Regions from separate parts of the Homo sapiens genome. Here region 1 is linked to region 2. The links are contacts of gene promoters, found by promoter capture Hi-C in blood cells and fetal thymus (Javierre and others, 2016). All regions are on one chromosome and are shown on one strand. Each heading gives the region's core, a stretch centred on a gene start or on the middle of the fragment in contact. The rest is flanking DNA. Distances are from core to core; before and after follow the strand shown. Region 1 overlaps LOC107986166 (a long non-coding RNA gene). Region 2 holds the start of FLJ42393 (a long non-coding RNA gene).

Region 1 (5,602 bases), core at 188-2,687, 180 kb before region 2:
CTGAGGGTCAAAATAATGTGATTGGGAATTACCGACATCCAATATAAAATACTAAAAAACCCAGAAAATTTTATATGGTTTGCCCTAATAATATAGGTTCAGGTTCTAAAGGGTATATGAGGTTCAAATCCTAATTCTGCCATTTCTTAGCAGGGTAAACTTTCCTTCTCTGTAATTTAAAATGGGAAGAATAGGAGACCTTATCTCATAAGGTTGTTGTAGTAAAGGGCTCACTCATGTAATGGCACAGATTTTGGCTACTGCACTCCAGAATGAAAAGGGAGATTTGTCCTTCATAGACAGGGCATCTACAACCACAACATCCCACTTCAATCTGGTTTTTCTTTGAATAATAAATTCCCCACCTTGTGTCACTGTAATTCTATCTTTCAACTCTCAATGCTCACACAGAATACTGACAGTTAAGAGACACCATTAAACTCTGCTACTCAGGAAAGGAACTTCAGGAACATAAGCTATCTACAGATAGCAAATACCAGCAAAGTTTAATCTGATTTATCAGCCACTTATTATTACTCCATTTCCCTTTTGCACCAGTGTCACATTCCCTGGAGACCTTTCAGGCTCTTCTTAGTCCTGGGCCTTCTTGACCCTCTACCTGAAAGGTGGTTTTCCTCTAGTTTTCTTTAATATAATTCCCAGGCTTCCTTCACTCCTTCTTCATCTCATCCTGAGGCTTTCGGTTCTGCACGCTTTGTCACATCCCTCTTCCATTACCTAACTCACCTGGATCCTCGTCCAACCTTCATGCCTTACACTGTGCACGGCTATACCATAGTCTCAACTCTGCTTTGGAATGATGTTGGGTCATAAGCAGTTTATTCAGCATAGTTTTCCATTTTCAAACTCGTTTCCGTAGGCTGTATTACAGCTCTGTAGGACTGTAGACCCCTATTGATATAAAACATAGATATCCATAGTTATCCTATATAGGGTATTTCCTCAGAAGTCCCAACTGCATCCACAAGGACTTGGTCACTGATACCTTGCGTGGTTGACACTGCAAGAGTTCTCAACTTAATTCTCTGCTCCACTCCAGGATTGAGGGCTTTTATTGTCTTCAGTGAGAGGACATTTAGCAGTCAGGTGACCCAGCATCAAGTTTGTCCCTTTCTGACCTTGCACCCTGGGTCCAGTGACTCATCTTATCTCTGATTTCATAATCCACCCAGGGTCCTCATTCCTACAAAACTGTTGGAATTAAAGTCTACCACCAACAGCTCCATAGCCTGCCTGTCTAGGAACAGGACTTATTCCCAGCCTCCCCCTAGCTTGATGGTAGAGTGGAAACAAACAGCAGGTTTGCACTCTTACCTAACCACTTCTTACATGACTAGTTGCTTTATCTCTCTAGGCCTCAATTTCCTCATTTGTTAAATAGGAATAAAATTACCCTTGCAGAGATACTGTGAGAATACATCACAAAGCAGACTGAATTCTTGACACATAGCATTGCTCAGTGAATAGTAGCTGTCTTTCTTAGGATGACCATTTATTATGGCTGGCTTGATGCTGGCTGCCGCTCAGCCTGTCCACCTCTTGCTTATCTTCGTGTGCTGCTGACACTCCCACATTCACCATCACACCTACCTAACCTCCTCATCTGAGTTCCAACTCCTCCTCTCCTCCAAGTGTGTTCTCGTTGTGTCTGTTCTGACTGCTGGCTAGCGGTGTACGGGAGCCAACAGGTACCAGCTCACAAGAGCTGACCCTGGCATCTCTTCCTAGCTCCACATTCAGTGAGCATCGTATTGGTAGCTTGAAATCAGGCACAGTGGGAGTATTTACACAGCAGAAATCAGCAAATACTACAAACAGGGCTTCCCCTTCACCCCACAGAGCCATTTGTTAAACATTTACAGGCACATAAGTGCAGACTCTTCATTTCTTCTGTACCTTCTCTGGGCCTTATTATCTGACCTGAACACTCAAATATAGCCCTTTTAAAGGAAGATCTTAGGGCTTTTTTTTGTACACTGACTGGCACTGCATTTCAGTGAGAATGCAGCTAAATCCATGCCGAAGTTTACAGAGTAACTCAGCTTAGGGATGGAAATATTTCACCAGGAAACAAACAAAAAAAATCTAACGAATATACATTAACCTCAGGATTAACCCTAGCACTAATGAGATCAGCTCAGTACAACCCAACTGTTTTTTTCCTGCCGGGCTCCCTCCTGGTGAGACAGGCTCCAGGGGCCAAGGCCTTTACCTGAATGCTGATGGAAATCTTCCAGGCCCTGAATGACATGTTCTCTGGGCCACTCCTTGAATGCCTCTAGCTTGGAAGCATTACTGTCCTGTAACAAAGAGGGTATAGAAGAAGATGAATCCTTTGTAGGTGAAAAGGGAGGCCTTGCCTTTCCTGCTTTGTTGTGAAGGCTCTGAGCCACATGAGTTTGCTAAGCTATAGACATGTTGAGGGCTCAAGTTCTGTTCCAATTTGTGTCCCCTAGAGGCCTGAACAAGTATCCTGTCCCTTTATGGTGTTTAATTAAGGTTTATTGTACTGAAGACCACATTTGGGATGAGTAATGGTTACTTAGTGCTAGGACGCACTTACCTATCTAATCTCCTTGAAGAAATACTTTATTAAGGAAATAAATAGATGTGTATGCCTGTGCCAGGTGCGGTGGGAGGAAGGATACTTTTCCCTAGGAGGAAATGTGTCCTTACGGATTTTAGAGAGCAAACTGTCATCTACTATCCTATCTGACTGTAGTGAATGTCATAAATCTCCTTTTAGCAGTATTTTATTCCTTCCTGTACATGAAAGGACTCCCCACCAGCCCAATTCAGGGGCACATTCCATCCTTCTGCCCTGTACTCCTAAAATCCTCTTTTTCCCCCACAAAGTTTAAAATTCTACCCATTTTTCTCTCTTCATAATTGCAGGCTGCCTACAGAATGCAAAACACTTCTCACCACCCCATGTCCTCGCAAGTACCCACCCTTCAACTTGCTGCCCCTAAAACTGGCACCTAGGGCAAGTTTTATTTTGATACATTTTATGATCATCTGCACAGGGATACCAACAGAAAGTGATGAGTGTAGGGAAGGGACAAAAGTTCCAGGAATGTCCCCAGTGCTCTCCTTACCCGGGTCTCTGGCCCACACTAAAATGGGAAATGCAACCCCTAGTTCTAAGAACTCCTCTTTGTATCCTCTCTCGCCTTCAGGGCAATGTCTCTGATGTTGGCAGGTACCACTAGCTATCCCTAATAAGAACAGCAGATATGAAGCTGTCAGGACCTTAACGAGGCACTTCGCAGGTTACAAATCATTCTCTCATCCTTTACTTTGGTGAACCTCAGAACCACCCTGTGACCTAGGCATTGAGGTGACCACCACCATCCTTCAGATGAGCTCATGGGACAGAGCTGTCAGAATGCCTGGTGGATGCCTGGGTGCGACACCTGCCAAGGCATACAGTGATTACGCGCTGCTTCTGCATAACCTGCAGAAAGACTCTGATTCAGGCCATCTTTTTTGGGCCGATCACGAGGTCAGGAGATTGAGAACAGCCTGGCTAACACGGTGAAACCCCTTCTCTACTAAAAATACAAAAAATTAGCCGGGCATGGTGGCGGGCACCTGTAGTCCCAGCTACTGGGGAGGCTGAGGCAGAAGAATGGCGTGAACCCAAGAGGCGGAGCTTGCAATGAGCTGAGATTGCGCCACTGCACTCCAGCCTGGGCGACAGAGCGAGACTCTGTCTCAAAAAAAAAAAAAAAAAAAAAAAAAGAATCTCAAATTGTGTCTTAACTCACTTTTATGAAGAAAAGTCACACACATTTTCTATCCACCACCCTGTCCCACTGGCAACAGCTTTGGTGCTTGCCTGATGACCGGATCTGTGTTCCCATGGCTACAGAGTAAAGTCAGGGCACCTCAGGCTGGACATCCAAATGACCCCTTGCCGTACTTCTAAGATCCAGGTTTGAGATAGGTCTGGATCAAGATGAAAAATTGCCATTATCCCAGGACTGGCTTTTTATGTCTTGCTTTATCTTGCCATACTTTTTATGTCTTTTTCCCAAGTCATCAAATGTACAAGTGCTTCAAGCCACAGAACTTCAGACTCCCTTAATTTATATTCTTACCTTTCCAGTAAGAATTAACTCTGAGTATTTAGGTTCTTCAGATACAAAATGCCTACTCTCTACTCCATGTAGTAAGAAAACAAAATTTATTTTTGAATATTTACCAGTTTAAACTTCTCACTAACTCATACTGGCCATTATAATTGTATAGGATTTTTCTCCACAGAAGTCAGGAATCTCCTTCAGCATGTTGATGTCAGATGATAGAATGGAGAGGACCAGTGGACTACTCAGTGCCAAGCTTAAGAGGTCATCTCATTAATCAATTGAATGGAAGTTTAATTTATTCATTCAACACACACTTACTAATAACTTGAGCCCCTGTAGTACTTGAGATCTGCTAACATATACATGTTATAAGTATGTTATCCATGCTTTCTAATTAGATTGTGAGGCCCTTCAAAAGAATCTGATCTCAATTTGCCACCACCTGTCTTATAACATCGGGCAACTCACTTCACTTCTCTGGGCCTCAGTTTCCTTATTGTGGGGGGTGGCTAAAAGGAGCGCCCTAAATCCACAGAGTCACCTTCTTCCCACTCAATTCAGCAATTATGGGTTATGCACAGAACATGAGAGCTGCTGAGGAAGCTCAAAGAAGGAAAGAACAAGTGCTGTTCAAGAAGAATCAGAATTGTTGAAGCTGGGCGAGGGTACATGGAAGTTCATCAGATAATTCTGTCTATTTATGTGTATATTTGAAAATCCCCTACAAAAAAAAAAAGCAAGAAAGGAAGAAAGGAAAAAATACAAGGAAATCTAGCAGGCTTCACATAGCGAGAAGCAATTTAGCAGAGTTGAAGCATGGGTAGGATTTCAATGAGCCGACACTTGGTCAGGGGCCATTCCAGGCAGGGAACACCATGAGCCAGGGCATAGAGACTGGAAAATACAAGGTGTTCACAAAGAACTGGGAGTAGCCATGTATGACAGCAGCATGGGGAGCCAGAGGGAGCAGCTGGAGATGGGCTGGAAAGGTATCGTGAGATCAGAGCTGAAGAGCCTCCAGAGGCCCTAGAGGAGTCTCAGCTTAGTTCAGTTCACCAGGGAAAGTGACCTCATTGGTCGCGCTTGAGTTGGCCTTACTGCTTCACAGCCCGCCTGGGTGCAGGCCCAGAAGCAGGGCCATGTGGCAGAAACTGGCAGAGGAGGATGCTGGCAGCACCACCGGGCTTGTTTCTCCACCAGGAAACAAGGTTTCCTATAACTCAGACCCATGAATCAGCATTTCCTCTGTCAATAATACGCAGCCAGAAATGCAACAGCACAGAGCTCGGGGAATGGAAGAAAGGAAGGAATATTCCATGACATCGCCAGGCTCTGCTGCTCTGCTCTCCTTTCCCCTCAAGAAGCACTGCTGATAAGCTCCCGAATGACACTCAGGTTTCATAGGATAAGTTTCTCAGAGAACCGCACGGTACCTCATGACAATTAAGTCCCACAGAGTAGTCGGCGCTCTTGTCATACTGTGTGTCGCT
Region 2 (5,662 bases), core at 2,692-5,191:
AAATACCCTGTATATCTTCCTTATCCTGCCATTTATGGTCTTATTGAAGGGGGCCAGCTGACTTCTGAAACCTCATCTCCATTGCTTTCCCTCACTCTTGTCTTTGTTGCAGCACTTTCTGCATTTGGATTACCCTGCCCTGCCATCATTACCTGTTTGAATCCAATTGATCTTCAAGGTCCAGCATATTAATACCACCTCTTCCATGAAGCATGCCTTGATTTCTGCCCATCCCCCCTAAGCAGGAAATCATCACTTCCTCTTATGGTTCCATGGCCCTTTGTCTGTACTGCTTGCATGGCACTGATCACTTCTTACCTTCTCTTGTAGTTATCAATATGCTCGTCTTATTTTGGGCTTTTACTTCTTTAGGACCTTCTCGTCTGCCTGGAACTTGGCAAACAGTGAACATTTGTTGGATGGATGGACAGGTTTGACACTGCTGACACTAGACTCAAATTTAGTTTCTTTAGAGTAGAATTTTATTTTATTTTATATTTTTTGAGTCAGAGTCTCGCTCTGTCGCTCAGCCTGGAGTGCAGTCGTGGGTTCTTGGCTCACTGCAACTCCACCTCCTGGGTTCAGGCGATTCTCCTACCTCAGCCTCCCAAGTAGCTGGGATTACAGGTGCCTCCCACCATGCCTGGCTAGTTTTCTTTGTATTTTTAGTAGAGATGACATTTTGCCATGTTGCCCAGGCTGGTGTGAAACCCCTGACCTCAAGTGAGCCGCCTGCTTGGCCTCCCAAAGTGCTGGGATTACAGGCGTGAGCCACCACGCCCCACCTAGAGTAGAATTTTAACTTGCTTATCTTTACATCTCCCATGCTGGCACTGAGAAGGTGCACATTCATTCATTTCACAATAAAGTTTCAGGCACTATTTCAGCAGTAAACAGTCCATTTGTTGATAGTTAACACAGAGAAAATAGTACTCATTGGGATGTGTTTTTATACTTGTAAGGTCGATCTGGATTTGTTTGTTTGTTTTGATATGTAAGGACCAAGAAAGAAAAGGTTTGCTAATCTACGAGTATTTCTGGTGTAGAATGCAAATGCTCTCTTATTCCTTCAACTGGCTTTATACTAAAAAGAGATCACTGGGCTCAGAAAGGTCCTATTTTTCAGATAATACAGCAGTTCCTTACTGACTTGCCTCAGGAGTAAACTCCTTTTCCAATTTTTAAAAGGATAGTACCAGGATGCCACTGTGCTCATAGTTGGGCTTTTTTGTACATGTTAATTTTTTTTTTTTTAAATATAGTGACAGAATGCATACCACTGAGGTGGTAAATGGAAAAAATAAGTGCAGTGGAGTATACTGTCTGTTTCTTGGGGCCTTTTCTATTAATCACAGGAGGAAGCATCAGACATGACCAGATGAGAGAGCCAGATGACCCAAGTTCATGCCAGATCAAAATCAGAATGGCAAAATTGGGAGGAGTTGATGCTGTTGAATTGAGAAAGCATAAGGTTCTCAGAGTGATAGAGCTGGAAGGATCATAAAGGTCATCTAGTCTAATGGTTCTCAAACTCGAAGGAACATTAGGGTCATCCTGGAGAGTTTACTGGGCCCCGTCTCAGAGGTTCTGATGCTGTAAATCAGGCGGGACCCCTGAATTTTCATTTCTAAGAAGCTCACAGGTGCTACTAATGTTGAAGAGAACCTATGATCTAGTTCAACTTCTGGGATTTCTTGCTTTCTTTCTTTTGTAAAAAAAATAAATAAATAAATTTAAAAAAGAGTTTTTGAAGATGGGGAAATGAGGCCTGGAAATAGAAAAGATTTGCCTAGAGTCACACACACTGTCAGGTCAGGTAGAGTCAAAATCAGGCACCCCGACTCACAGACTGCTTCACATTGCCATCAGAGATTGTCCTGCAACAATATTATGTTTAGTTCTACTGCAGAATGATAACTGGATCTTACCCCCTTTGCCTGATCTGGCCACAAACTTGTTTTTCAGGTCTTTCCATTAGGCTCTCTTCAGCTAATTAAAAAAAAAAAAATCAGTTAACCCACATTTATTGACCAGTGCTGTGTGTTCACAACTGTATTTAGACTAGTGGTATAGCAGTGCAGTAGTCTGAAAACATTTTCTCATCTGTAAACAAAGACAGTCATACCTCCTAGGACTGCAAGAAGTCACTGAACATATACCTGGCCCTTAGTGTACACATTACTAAAGAGAATAAGATGTGGTCTGCACCCTCTCATGCACCAGTGGCTTCTTGAGCAGTATGATAGAGAGAGACAGCTGAGATTTAGTGGAAAAACACAAGGCTTAGAATTGGGAGAGCTGGGTTCAAGCCCCAGCTTTGCCACTAAATGGCTGTGTAGTCTTGAACAAGTCACCTGCCCTCTCTGAGCTATAATTTGAAATAGACTTAGCTTAAGCAACAGGAAAGCAGTAATGAGCTAGAGGAAGGATAGAAATTGGGAAGAAGTATAAATCTGCTTAGGAGATGGCAAGTTTGGGGCTGAGGTGGAATTGATCTGAGGGAGAGACCTGGTAGAAAGAGCTAGGCAGTATGAGGCTGAGTGTCTGAAGGGGTAGCAGGCCTGGGGGTGGTCCAGTGATGGTTGAATGGGTGGGCCAGCCCAGCGAGGGGATCGCCTGCAATCCAGTAGAGATGCCCTCATTTTCATGGCAGGGTCCCCCTGTGCCAGTAGACAGACCCAGGCCTGGGAAGGAGGGCTGGTTGAAGTGAGATGGATACCAGTCTTGGAGCATGGTTGGAGAATCTGTCCAGGGTGATGGCATCTGTTTTGGATTGGGGCCTTGAGGCACATTTTCAGTTCTGCTCCCTGGACCAGCATAGGAGGGTGGCAGACAGTACAGTGATTTGAATACAGGATTGATCCTGCCACCTTGATTTCTGCCTTTATTTAGCGGCAAAGACACTAGATCAGAAAAGTACTGGATGTGATTGCTGTAGTCTTTCATGATTGATTTAGGAGCTGGGAGAGGCCTGGCTAGGAGTTGGAGGATCCCTGGGAAGATGAAGATTAGGTCTTACGTGAGCCTCAGCCCTCTCCTCTGTAAAATGGGAGTAATGATGGTAATTATGCTGATGTTACCTATTCTGACTGGAGTAAGGATTAAAGTACTTGTCTGGAGGAAGGCACTTCATGGTTAAAACATGAAAAGAGAAGTGCACAGTGTTTTTATTACAGGGAAACACCAAAGAGCTGGAAAGGAATGAGGGCTGGAGAGATGGAGCTGCCCTGAGGACTCTGGGAGGTCATCCTGGGGGCAGAACTTTGACAGTTGCTGCCCGAGGTGGGACAGGGATGCTGGGAAGATGTGACGATGTGCATAAGTGTGTCATGTTCAAGATGGTTCTAAGCCCTGGCCAATTCCATACATGCTCTTTTCCTTTCTCATCCATAGAGGTTTTGGCAAAGGCATACTTGGGAGTGTTGATATAGCTGACACTGCAGCACCCTCAGTTTACAGGTGTGAGAAGAGTGAGGCTCCCACAGTCTCACTTGGACAGGTAGTCAGGGCTCTGATGGAGCTCCTGGAGTTTCTAGGTTCTCTGTCACTTGATAGTCAGTGCTGGGAGGGACCTCAGGGAATCAGCCAATTTCACAGATGGGGAGAGTGAGGCAGGTTGGGAATTCTGGCCCCAGTGGAGGGCACCACATGCCCACAGGGAAATGTCTTTCCCAGCCCCCTCCTCATGCTTCTCCTCTTTTCTGTCTGGAAGTCCTAGTTCTCCTCCTCACGCTGAGACCCAGGTAGGGTGATTGTCCATGTTTCTTCATTTATCTGTTTTTTTTCTGTTGCCCAGGGACTACTCTAAGCACCATGCTGGTTGCTGACTGTTCGCTTTTGCAAGATCTTGGAATCTCTGTTTGTTCACATCACAACTCAAGAGGATACGTTCTCATTCTCCCAATGTTTGTCTTCTGCCCATTGCATCAAATTGCTCTTCCTTGTTTGGAATTAAACTTCTAGCAATCATTTACCTTTATGGTTCTCTTAACTTCAGGTCACACTGTTGTTTAGTCAATGTGAGAATCTTTCAGATGTTCTGCACTTTGCAAAAGGATATTCACAGCCAATGTGTGCGGCAGTGAAGGACACTTGTTGATTCCTTATTTATTGTCTGCTGTTCCAGGGACCGGGGACTAGAGGTGAATAAAGCCTTGTTTGGGCTGTCTAGGATGTTGTGATCGACACAGGAAACAGACATGAAAGCCAAATTGGCGCAGTGGGTGAAGTATTGTAATACTGGTCTCTGTTTATGATATATGGAAGAAGTTTCCTAGTAGCAGGGTGGGTGAGAGAGTCCATCATCATTGCAGATTGGTGCCTCTGTGGACATGCAGGTATATTAGGCCAGAGGTGGGGAGTGGGAGAGAGAGGGAGAGAGAGAGCACGACAAAGAGAGAGAGAGAGAGTGAGCAAGAGAGAGGGAGGGAGAGAGACAGAGAGAGAGAGAGAGAGAGAGAGAGAGTGAGCAAGAGAGAGGGAGGGAGAGAGACAGAGAGAGAGAGAGAGAGAGAGGTTTTGAGAGCATTGATATGGGGTCTACATATTCCCCCCGGCCCCCATTCCCTATTATCATAGAAGCATGCTGCCCTCCAAGGCTTTTGAATTTGCCACCGTGAAGAGCATGCATGGAATCTTCGGCTGTGGCCTTGCATTGCCCCCTGTCTTCGCAGCGGAGCTTCTTTATCTGACCCGTGCATGTGCCTCTGATGAGCAGCCCTTCATCACAGCTCTGCGGCCTCCTCCTAGGCCCCCGCCTTCAGCTCTCCAGTTCATTTCCCGCCTTGTTCCCATTGCCACCTGCGGGCTTGGAGGGCCACCTGACATTCTGTCCTTTGGGTCCCCTGTGACTCCAGAGCTCCTTCCCTTCTGGGGCGCCCACATCTGCGACACGCTTGTTTGCCCAGTGCATTTTCTACACTTAGAGTTCCTCTCGTGCTCTCATATTTCCATTTAAAGCCCTCTCGAGAGGTCTGTCTCCTGCCAGCAGCATTCCTTCTAGTTTACTAGAACTCCATTTCTCATCCTGCCAGGAATCCAGCCGTGGAGTGAGCTTCAGCAAGCCTCTCTGCAGTCTCTTGTCTGCTCCAAAACTGTGGCCTCTGGTTGTGAGAAATGGGCATCCTGAGTCAGTGAGAGCAGTAGTTAGCTTGCAGCAGCTTCCCCTCTCCCCCTGAGTGAGCCTTTCTTCCTCTTCCTCCTCTTTCATTCAGCCTCATCCTGCCTTGGGTCCATTTGACAGATAATGGCACCTTGAGGCCTTGTCTTTTGCATGGCATCTGTGCCTGACTGGTCAGAAATTACTTGTGAAGCAACATAGGGGGTTGTTGGTTGGGTCCACTTTTAGGATGAAGTCAGAAGGGATCGTGAGTGATGCTTGGCCAATAAGAATGTATTGATTTGATTTACTAATTAATTTCATTTCCAGACACCAATATATGCATAGCCTTGTTTGAAGAAAATTAAGGAGAACCATTTTGTAAATGGCAATGAGTGTAAGACACTTAACTATCTTCCTGCTCTCCCTGGCGTGGGCTTCCGCGCTCCCTGACTCTGCTTTTATTTAAGGTGTCTGGGAAGGCATTTGTCCTTCGGCTTCCCAGCTGGCTTCTTGCCTTCTCACTCACTGCCTCCCGTAGCCTGTGGGCAGAATCCCTCACCG

Evidence for each region. The method cuts DNA at HindIII sites, captures the fragments that hold promoters and counts their contacts. A CHiCAGO score of 5 or more calls a contact.
Region 1: a contact is called between a fragment that was not itself captured here and the fragment with the promoter of FLJ42393 in region 2, in 1 of 17 cell types (fetal thymus). The highest score is 5.4, in fetal thymus.

The regions. Positions count from the first base shown.
Region 1 is chr3:188,001,668-188,007,269 of GRCh38, forward strand. LOC107986166 (a long non-coding RNA gene) reads right to left here. Exons shown (of 5, transcript XR_001741061.2): 3 at 2,234-2,321; 4 at 748-912. Among named protein-coding and RNA genes, the nearest start is that of LINC01991, 28 kb to the left of the region's middle. The HindIII fragment of the contact is 5,852 bases long and covers 1-4,363 here.
Region 2 is chr3:188,174,602-188,180,263 of GRCh38, forward strand. It overlaps FLJ42393 (a long non-coding RNA gene), which reads left to right and starts at 3,942. Exons shown (of 1, transcript NR_024413.1): 1 at 3,942-5,662. All of the region lies in intron 1 of LPP (LIM domain containing preferred translocation partner in lipoma), which reads left to right. RefSeq lists an enhancer at 4,706-5,318. The HindIII fragment of the contact is 11,595 bases long and covers 1-5,662 here.